2 separate regions of the Homo sapiens genome follow, and region 1 is linked to region 2. Evidence: promoter capture Hi-C in human tissues and cell types (Jung and others, 2019). All regions are on one chromosome and are shown on one strand. The core of a region is centred on a gene start or on the middle of the fragment in contact, and the rest is flanking DNA. Distances in the headings are between cores, read along the strand shown.

Region 1 (4,881 bases), core at 1,107-3,606, 97 kb after region 2:
TGTAGGTTATCAACCACATTAGGACCTCAAATTAAGTTGTTGAGCCACGAGGGCGATAACCTTTAACAAAGTAAGTACTGATCTTATAAATCTTTCTACACTGCCTCACACCATCTCATCTAGGTCACCAGAAAAATATTTTTAAATGTGTCCTTAGTACAATAAAAAAAAACTGCTTAATACTCACATCAATGCCTTCTTTGTGTGCTTGGATGACAGTTTGAGTTGTGCATTCAGCTGCTTTTGGATATATTGTGTCAACTTAATAAACAGAAAGAGACTCTTTATATGGGAACAAAGTTTTGTAATGGGTACGTGTGTACCATAGTAAACCATGTATGTCCTTAGGGAGATAAAGGAAGAAAAAGATTTTTAAAGCAAAAGAATAAGAAGGATTAAGTAAATGTTTTGAAATACTTATCATTCACTGCAAACATCAATAACAAGGGTGACACCAGGCCAAGTTTGAACAGGGAGTTGCTGGACAGATGCCTTTTCAGGAGTATTTTTTGTAAAAGGTTTTGATGACCTTTGTGAAAAGTTGTGTCACAACTGATTTTCCTATTTATATTAAATACCTGCATCCACTCTGAGCTTCTGATCAAATTGAGACAGCCTTGTTGCTGGCTGCCATTCCAACCAATGTCTCTTGTCTCAGGACAAGGTGTAATTTACTCCAAGGTTTAAGTTACTGGATGTAGATCAATAACAAAGAATAGTTTCATCAATATTAGATTGATTTAGATTTTTTTAAAGGATGACATGCTGAAATAGCAGCTATCTCTCAAACTTCTAATAATTAGTTATATTTAATGAGCACTTACTAGAGACCTGCTACTTTTCTAAGTGCTTTGTATGACTTTGCAATTTAGTCTTCATACCAACCTACCAATCTGTACCATAGGTACCACAAGTATATCCATTTCATAGATTAGAATACTCAGACACAGAGAGATTCAGTAATGTGTCCAAAGTCAAGAAGCCAATATATGAAAATGGTGATATTGAACCCACAAAACCGGTTCAGAAACCAGAGATTTTGGTTAAAAATAATGTTAGTGTGGGGACTCTAATTCCTTTCTTAAATTGAGATTCTACCCTATGGTGTCTCATTTACTCCAGAAAAAGGAAATTATAGTTGCAAGAGTTAAAGCTTTGCAATAGCTATGACCTATTTCACACTTAGCAAGATTCCTAAAAAGTGGGGTGAGGTAAATTACAGAAGAGGCCTCTTGGTGGCAGAATCTTTGATGGCCATTAGCCCATGGCATACCCCATGCTAGGGACACACAAGGTTGTGGTCTGATCTCACTTGGAGACACAGGCTTTCCTAAGATATGACAACACCATAAGTAGAAGAACTGCTCAGTGCCATCTCTCCATTGACATCCCCTCTCAAAACATGACTTAATCATAGATAGTCATGAGATCGGGGTGGAGATGCAGTGAACTGGAAGACGGAGAAGCTATGTGCTGTGACCCATGCCATTCCCCCAATGAATCTAGTCTAAATTTACAAATGGCCACAACCAGCCCCTCTGTGTGCACTGCCAAACTCAGAAATCTTATATTCTCCAAATGATGCACCAGATAGGGGCTATTCAAAGTCAGAAGTTTATAATGCTATGGAATGAACTAACGAAAACTCATTTACTGTTTCTGTCTCCAGTTTGACCAGAAATTTCTAGAATCTGCAGAAGAATTGGACAAGTTAAGAAATGGTAAGATGAAGTCTCTAAGTACCTCTGATGTGGGTATCTAATAGAAGGCACACAAGGAATTTTGAACAGCAGGCAATGCCCATGTGTGTGTGGGGTGGTATTTGGGCAAGGTGGAGAGGGAGAAAGTGGTTAAAATGGAAGGGATGTGGCTCCTTGATCAGGTCTGGCAACTCTCTCCAGGCTAAAAGAACTAGACTTCTCAGAGTATTTGCTAGAGGAACCATCCCCAGCGCCCTGAGAATGCCCTATCCTTATTTTCATGCTTTGGGCACCATGAATGAGCTGTGTTGATCAGCTCAGGATCCCATACAGGCCTCCCCATCCAAGGATACTCAAGGACATAGATTAGATGAAAGGAGGAGAAATAGATGTGACCATTGTCTTGAGTCTTTGTTCTTTCATGGGGGGTGTGAAAAGGTAATATTGTAGCAGTATTGCAGGCTTTGAAGAGCACAGAAAGGGACCCTTACATAAAAACCTCTCAGAACCTGCCTTAAATGTCACAAATATGAGGCTTATTCTGGGAACTTCTCATTCTAAATGGCATTGTGTTGGCAGTCCTGTTGTAACCTATCCCAACATCTTCCTGAAGTATCCATGAACATAAATGAACACAAAAAAAGACAAGAGTTCTACTATGTATCTGGAGGAGAAATAAATAACAAAAATGAAACAACATGATAAAAAGTAAAAGGAAGCTGATTAACAAAAAGAAGGACTACAGGAAGCTTTTTAAAAACGCACTTTCAGGTGAAATCTTACCAGGCAATAATTTCTTTTTCATGTACAAATTTAGTCATTTTCACAACCATTTTTTTCATCCTGAAAGAGTGGGATTCATAGTCATTTCACTCTCCTTTTTTTTCCTTCTTTGTAAAGATGGGAGTTTGATGTTCCAGCTAGTGTCAATGGTTGAGATTGACAGGATGAAGCTGTGCAGACCAGAGCCATTCTCAACTACATTGCCAGCAAATACAACCTTTATGGGAAAGACACAAAGGAGAGAGCCCTGTATGGTATAGTTTCTATTCTTCCATCAACAGATTTAACACAGGAGTGATTTAGGTCCTTCCTTGAGTGGGTGGGACATGGTAGGGGCCTTCAGCATGTACGCTAGGGTCTAGCATTGCAGAGACTCATGGAGATGAGGGAACAGTGAACATGGGGTGGGCTCAGGCGAGGGGGAGTCTAGAAGAGGATCCAGTCCATGGATCCAGCACCCTGACAGAGGTTTCCAAACACGGATGAACCATGAACTCAGGAGGATGGGGAATCATGATTCCAGGTGCTCAGGCCTTCAGAGGCTGGACTGGAGCCAACAGCTTAGGACAAGGCATAGAACGTTTGAGAGTCTGTAGGTGAAGGCCTGGGGAGAAAAGGTTACAAAGGAGCTGAATCTCAGGTTCCAGTAAATCCAAGAATGATGACCAGGGACCTAAGTTACCAGCCAATTATATGGACTGCAACACCTGAGCAGGGCTAGCAGAGGCTGGCACCAAGGATGCTGGGGTTATCTTGACACATGGTTACAAGGCTGAAACAGCCAGATTGATTCAATACCAGCAAAGCCAAAGGGTTTCCTCACTATTGTGATAAAACTACATGATTCCAAATAAATCCTGAATGGAACTTTTGGCAGCCCCTCCAAAATTTTCCTGCAGTATTACCAATGACCAAGCAATTCCTCAACTAGATATATTCCCAAAAGAATAAAAAATACAACCACACTAAATATTGAAGATAAATGTACAATGCAAATAACAATATTCATAGTATTCAAAAAGTGGAAACAAGGCAAATATCCATCAATCAATAAATGGAGGGGCAAAATGTGCTTTAGCCATGTGATGGAACGATATTGTCATGAAACAGAATGAAGTACTGATGCATGCTACAAGATGGTTAAACCATAAAGACATGTTACATAAAAGAAACAAGACACAGAAAGCCACATATTATAGGATTCTTTTTGTATGAAACGTCCAGAATATGCAAATCCATAGAGGCAGAAAGTAGATTAGTGTTGCCTGGGGCTAAAGGAGTGGGGCTTGGAGTAAAATGAAGAATACTGCTGATGGTACAGATGTCCTTATCGGGGTCATAAAAAATATTCTGGAATTAGAATGTGATGATTTTTGCAGAGTTCTGTGAATGTGCTAAAAAGCACTGAATGTGGCTGTATGTCAATAAGCTGTTGTTTTAAAAAGTATTGTGAAACCTGAGTTTGACACAAAAGAAAAAGTTTGCACTGGTTGTAACTGTATAAATAATTTCACCAAGGAAGGGGATCTTTTAGGTGGAGTCTCAGGTAAGGCACACGTGGCTAGAGTCGGACAACAGCACATGGAGAGGGCTGTAGAATTATGTTTCATGGGAGTAACTGGAAAAACTGCTAATATTGGGCATAGAAGTGGGCCTGGGAGATGTAAAATGATGAGACAGAACAAGGAACATGACTGAGATGGCTGTGCCAGGGACTCTCTTGGGATTACTTAGGAGGCAGGACTTTGGCAATTTGACTCACACTAAGTTCACACACAGAACAAACCACAATAGAGATGGTCAGTCCTGGCACAGCACCAGTGGGTACTGGCAGTGATTCCACAAGTTTCTGTCATGACTGTGACCACCGATGCTCTTTTTACCTGTATTAGGTCATGTGTGTAACAAAATTTAGAGATCTATCTACCTCAATAGGTTGTTTTAAAAAAATAAATGTTAATATACCTGTAAAAATCAGAGCATAATGACTAGACTATGAAAGGCAATCATTGGAGGTAAATTGCTTTGCCACCACCTGATGCTCTATCCTCTTAGATTTTTAAACTATAAAATCTAAGGCAAAAGGCATTAGAAAGTTTGGTTGTTTTTGTCTTTCAGGATTGATATGTATATAGAAGGTATGGCAGATTTGAATGAAATGATCCTTCTTCTGCCCATATGTCAACCTGAGGAAAAAGATGTCAAACTTGCCTTGATCGAAGAGAGAATGAAAAATTGCTATTTCCCTACCTTTGAGAAAGTAAGTGAAGTCATTCAGCGTTTTGGAACACTGCATTTTGAGGACAATAGAAAAACAGTGGCTTGGCATTCCTGGGGCACTGACAAACAATTGTACCGCTTACACTCAAGCTATAATTTTCCAGCAAAGTTTTGTTTT
Region 2 (4,707 bases), core at 1,337-3,836:
ATGTGGAGAAATAGCAACACTTTTACACTGTTGGTGGGAGTGTAAATTAGTTCAACCATTGTGGAAGACAGTATGGCAATTCCTCAAGGATCTAGAACTAGAAATACTATTTGACCCAGCAATCCCATTACTGGGTATATACCCAAAGGATTATAAATCATTCTACCACAAAGACACATGCACATGTATGTTTACTGCGGCCCTGTTCACAATAGCAAAGACTTGGAACCAACCCAAATGCCCATCAATGATAGACTGGATAAAGAAAATGTGCCACATATACACCATGGAATACTATGCTGCCATAAAAAAGGATGAGTTCATGTCCTTTGCAGGGACATGGATGATGCTGGAAACCATCATTCTCAGTAAGCTATCACAAGAACAGAAAACAAAACACCACATGTTCTCACTCATAAGTGGGAGTTGACCAAGGAGAACACATGGTCACAGGGAGGGTAACATCACACACCGGGACCTATAGTGGGGTGGGGGCCTAGGGAAGGGATAGCATTAGGAGAAATACCTAATATAGATGACGGGTTGAAAGGTGCAGCAAACCAGCATGGCATGTGCATACCTATGTAACAAACCTGCATGTTTTGCACATGTACCCCAGAATTTAAAGTATAAAAAAAAGATTTTGATGTCTAAATTTAAGTCATACATACTTTTGTAGAAGTACATTAGTTGACGGCGGGTGCAGTGGCTCACGCCTGTAATTCCAGCACTTTGGAAGGCTGAGGCAAGTGGATCTCCTGAGGTCAGGTGTTTGAGACCAGCCTGGCCAACATGCTGAAGCCCTGTCTCTACAAAAAATACAAAATTAGCCAGGTGTGGTGGCATGTGCTGGTAATCCAAGCTACTTGGGAGGCTGAGGCAGGAGAATCACTTGAAACTGGGAGGCTAAAGTTGCATGAGCTGAGATTGCACCATAGCACTCTAGCCTGGGAAAAAAACAGTAAAACTCCATCTCAAAAAAAAAAAAAAAAGAAATACATTAGTTGTTAAAGGCAAGTATATTTTTCTTCTAAACTCAACAACCACAAAACTTTGCAAGAAGAATCTTAATGTTTAATCACAGAGCTGGGGGTTTGGAGAGAATATGCAACTGTTCCTAAGTCCTGGCACTGGAACTCCTGCTTTCAATGAGTCCTGTGTCCTTCCATTCACATTCATGATACAATTAGTTGCATCTGTCCTTGCAGCCATTGGTTTTCATTCTCTGATACTCTGCTATGTTCCACCTCCCAAACAGCCTGGGATAGAGCAAGGGCTATCAAACTTCACTGATGAGCCCAGTCAATTTCTCTCTAACCATTTACAACAAGCAGGTGAGCGTGCACACATGCAAACATCCATACACACAATATACAAATAACTGAAACTAACAACTCATGAAACATTACTTACCCTTCAACATGTCATGCTCACTGATATTTTTATTCTTTTCTATTTTATTTTAAAAAGTACTGGGGTTTCACAATCTACTGAAAGATTACCATGCATATTTGAGAAACATTAACATAGAAAATAAGACTCAGTCTTTAGTTTTTAATAGCAGTGAGTCTGCATCCCAGATCCACCACTTAATCTGGGTAAGTTACTTTAAAAACCTCAGTATCCTCAACTGTAAAATGAGAATAGCAACAGCCTTTCACCTTAGGTGATTTTTGTAGGACAAAATGAGAGAAGTTTAGAAGAATGGCCAGTGTATGACTGACGTTGAACAAATGCTAGCTCCTTCCATATCCTGCAAAGTTAATGCAGCAACATCTCTTTTGCCAGGTTATAAAACAAAATGCCCCCCACAGAGTTAAAATATAGAACACCAAAAGAAGCAAGGTATTAGCATTCTCTGTTGAAAGACTTTGGATCTTCTAGCTACAGTAAAACAAGTCTGAAGCCTAATTTCTGGTTTTGATCAAATGCAGTCTCACAGCCAGAGAGCTGAAGAGTGACTTAGCTCCCTGCCGGTCCTCCCTGTCAGTGACATCCTCTGGTTTCACAACCAGTTCATGGGTTCCCAGGGCCTTCACCCAGATGTCTTCCAGGCGTGACTTCATTTTAGTCCTTGGTGTAGATATTCATGTCCATCACCAACCAGAGTGTGACTGTGAACATTGTATTTCTCTGATGTTCGATTTCATTAACTAAAAATTGGAGAAAACAACCATTTAATGAGACTATAAGGAGGGTTAAAGATATAAAATATTGAAAGGGACTAGCATTGAGGAAGGATCATGAGGAAGTTTTCAATAAATATTAGTTCTTGAATTCTTCCCCTTCCATTAACTCCTGTACATGTATTATTACCACATACTCTCACCTCTTAGGCTGCCAAGAAAAGTCACAGGTAAACAATGAAGACTTGAGACTGGTTTGAGGGTGGCCACTGCTGGGTAACAATTTGAGCCAAGAAAACATTCCAGGAACTCCTTCAACCCAGTCATGAAGAAGGCAGGTTCTTCTTCAGCATTGTTTGTGGTTTTCAACCACACATCCTAAAGTACATTTTTGATTCTATCGTTTCAATTATTCATTCATTCATTCAGGCTTAGAGAAACCTCCAGGAGACTGCTATCATGGCAGAGAAGCCCAAGCTCCACTACTCCAATGCACGGGGCAGTATGGAGTCCATTCGGTGGCTCCTGGCTGCAGCTGGAGTAGAGGTAGGTTCTGAGTAAGGTCATCTTAAGTTGGATTTAAAATTGCGTTATCACATACTTTTCCCACAGAAACTATGCAATGATTACTTACTGAAGCATTGTGCCTTAAATAAAAATGGACTGTAATTAAGAAAAAGATGAATAGATTTGACCTAAAAATTGTTAAAATTTCTTCTTATCTAAGAGCATACATATTAAAATACAATTAAGAAACTAATCAAAAAGTGTAGAACTTAAGTGGATTAGAATTTAAACAAACTGTAAAAAATAATTTATGGCATTAGAAACTTGGATATTGACTGAATATTTGATGACATGAAATAATTATTGTTAATATTTCATGTGTGATAATGTACTATGGTTATCTTTAGAACAGTTTATGTGTTTTAGGAAAACACATTGAAGTATTTAAGGATTAATCATATGGATCTGGGATTTCTTTGGAATTATTACAAAAGGAGAAGTAGGTGGGCATAAATATAACTTCACATTGGTTTTGGTTGATAATTATTGATTCTAGGTGAGAAATATAAGGAGAATTTTTATGCTTTTCTGTTTATTTTTATTCATGTTCATAATTTCCACAACAAAAAAATGAAAATACGTAATATTTAAAAATGGCTGTAGTTAGAGGTAAAATGCAAACTATAAATGAGAGGTGTAAGGGAGTGGATTGTAACAAACTACCTATTAAAGATTGACTACATTCACAGCAATTATTTGTTGAGCACTTATTAATTCCAGGTTCTGTACTAGGTCATGGAGATAGACAGTGAACAAGACAGACACAGTCCCTGCCCTGGGGCGGCCTACATGTCTATGAGGATGCAGACAAGTAAACACGTGGTTAAAATGAGGCGTGGAGGCTTCTAGAACACCCAAGCATTCCCCAGTGTTACCAGGTCATCCTCCCAGTGTTTGAGTAGGAAATGCCTGGAGGTGTCTGTGGGACTCCGCTGAGTGCTGCCCTCTAGAGGTGTCACTGAGAAAAACACTTCCCAGTCCAGACCAGAGTCCTTCAGCGACTGCCTGAGGGTTTTCCTGGGAAGTGAGTCATGGACAAACTCAGGAGATCTTGTCCCTCGGGTGGCAGCAGAAAAGGGGGGTTTCAGGTGAGGTGGCGTCCTGTGAAGGGAACTTCTAGCGCGCCCCTTCAGCCTCACAGCGCCGTGTGGACCTGAGCCTCGGAACGGTACTTTGTGCGTTGCTTCACGAAGGCTTGGGACTTTAGCCTCACCCTTTCTCAGTTCTATGAAGAAATAAGCACATAAGAAATCCAAACACTATCATTCTAGGTTGTTTCCTTTGTACAAATGAATACCCTGTTTCACTGTCACGCAGACATCAGCTCTGCAGCTCAGGGATGTGTTCAGAGCCCGGGTAGGAAGAGTTCAGCAGGAGGGAGGGAGGGGCAAGGCTGGGAGGAACCCAGGTTCCCAGGTCTCCATCCAGCCTGACTGAAGGCGGGGGCAGGGCTGACTGCAGACCTTGCTCAGGCTTCTGGGGTCTCAGCGCCCTAAGGCTGATGATCACAACCCAGTCCTCACATCCCACTTGCCAACCCCACCCCACCTTGTCTACCCTCCTTCCTGGACCACCCACCGTTCCTTAGGTTTGTCCTGAACTGGATGCCTTATTAATTGCTGGCACACACCCCCATGACCTCTAGATCCTGGTCCTGTGTGATCATAGATCCACAACAAATTCTGTTCCATGGAGCAAGCCAGAAACCCCCAAATTCCTGATCTTTCACCATAAAGAACTCCATTAAAGTATAATTAGCCACTGGAAACACCGCTACTATTTATTACTTGATGTATGTGGGTCAGGCCCTGTATCATGCATTTTGAAACATTACAAAATTCCATTTAAGAAAATATTATATTCCCATTTTGCAGATTAAGAATCTAAGGCTTGAAGATTTTAAGCAATAATTCCTAGATCACACAGCTATTTTGAGGCAGAGTCAAGATTGGAACCAGATCATAACAACATTGAAATCCAGAAAACCTTGATAACTTTTGCTTAGACTTTTGGT

What was found. Contacts are between HindIII fragments. The study calls those that stand out against the background at their distance.
Region 1: a contact is called between a fragment that was not itself captured here and the fragment with the promoter of GSTA5 in region 2, in 2 of the 25 tissues and cell types used here (liver and thymus).

What each region holds. Positions count from the first base shown.
Region 1 is chr6:52,741,445-52,746,325 of GRCh38, reverse strand. It overlaps the pseudogene GSTA7P. Among named protein-coding and RNA genes, the nearest start is that of GSTA2, 20 kb to the left of the region's middle. The HindIII fragment of the contact is 4,440 bases long and covers 137-4,576 here.
Region 2 is chr6:52,838,692-52,843,398 of GRCh38, reverse strand. GSTA5 (glutathione S-transferase alpha 5) reads left to right here and starts at 2,586. Exons shown (of 6, transcript NM_153699.3): 1 at 2,586-2,672. The coding sequence starts at 2,586. The HindIII fragment of the contact is 18,057 bases long and covers 1-4,707 here.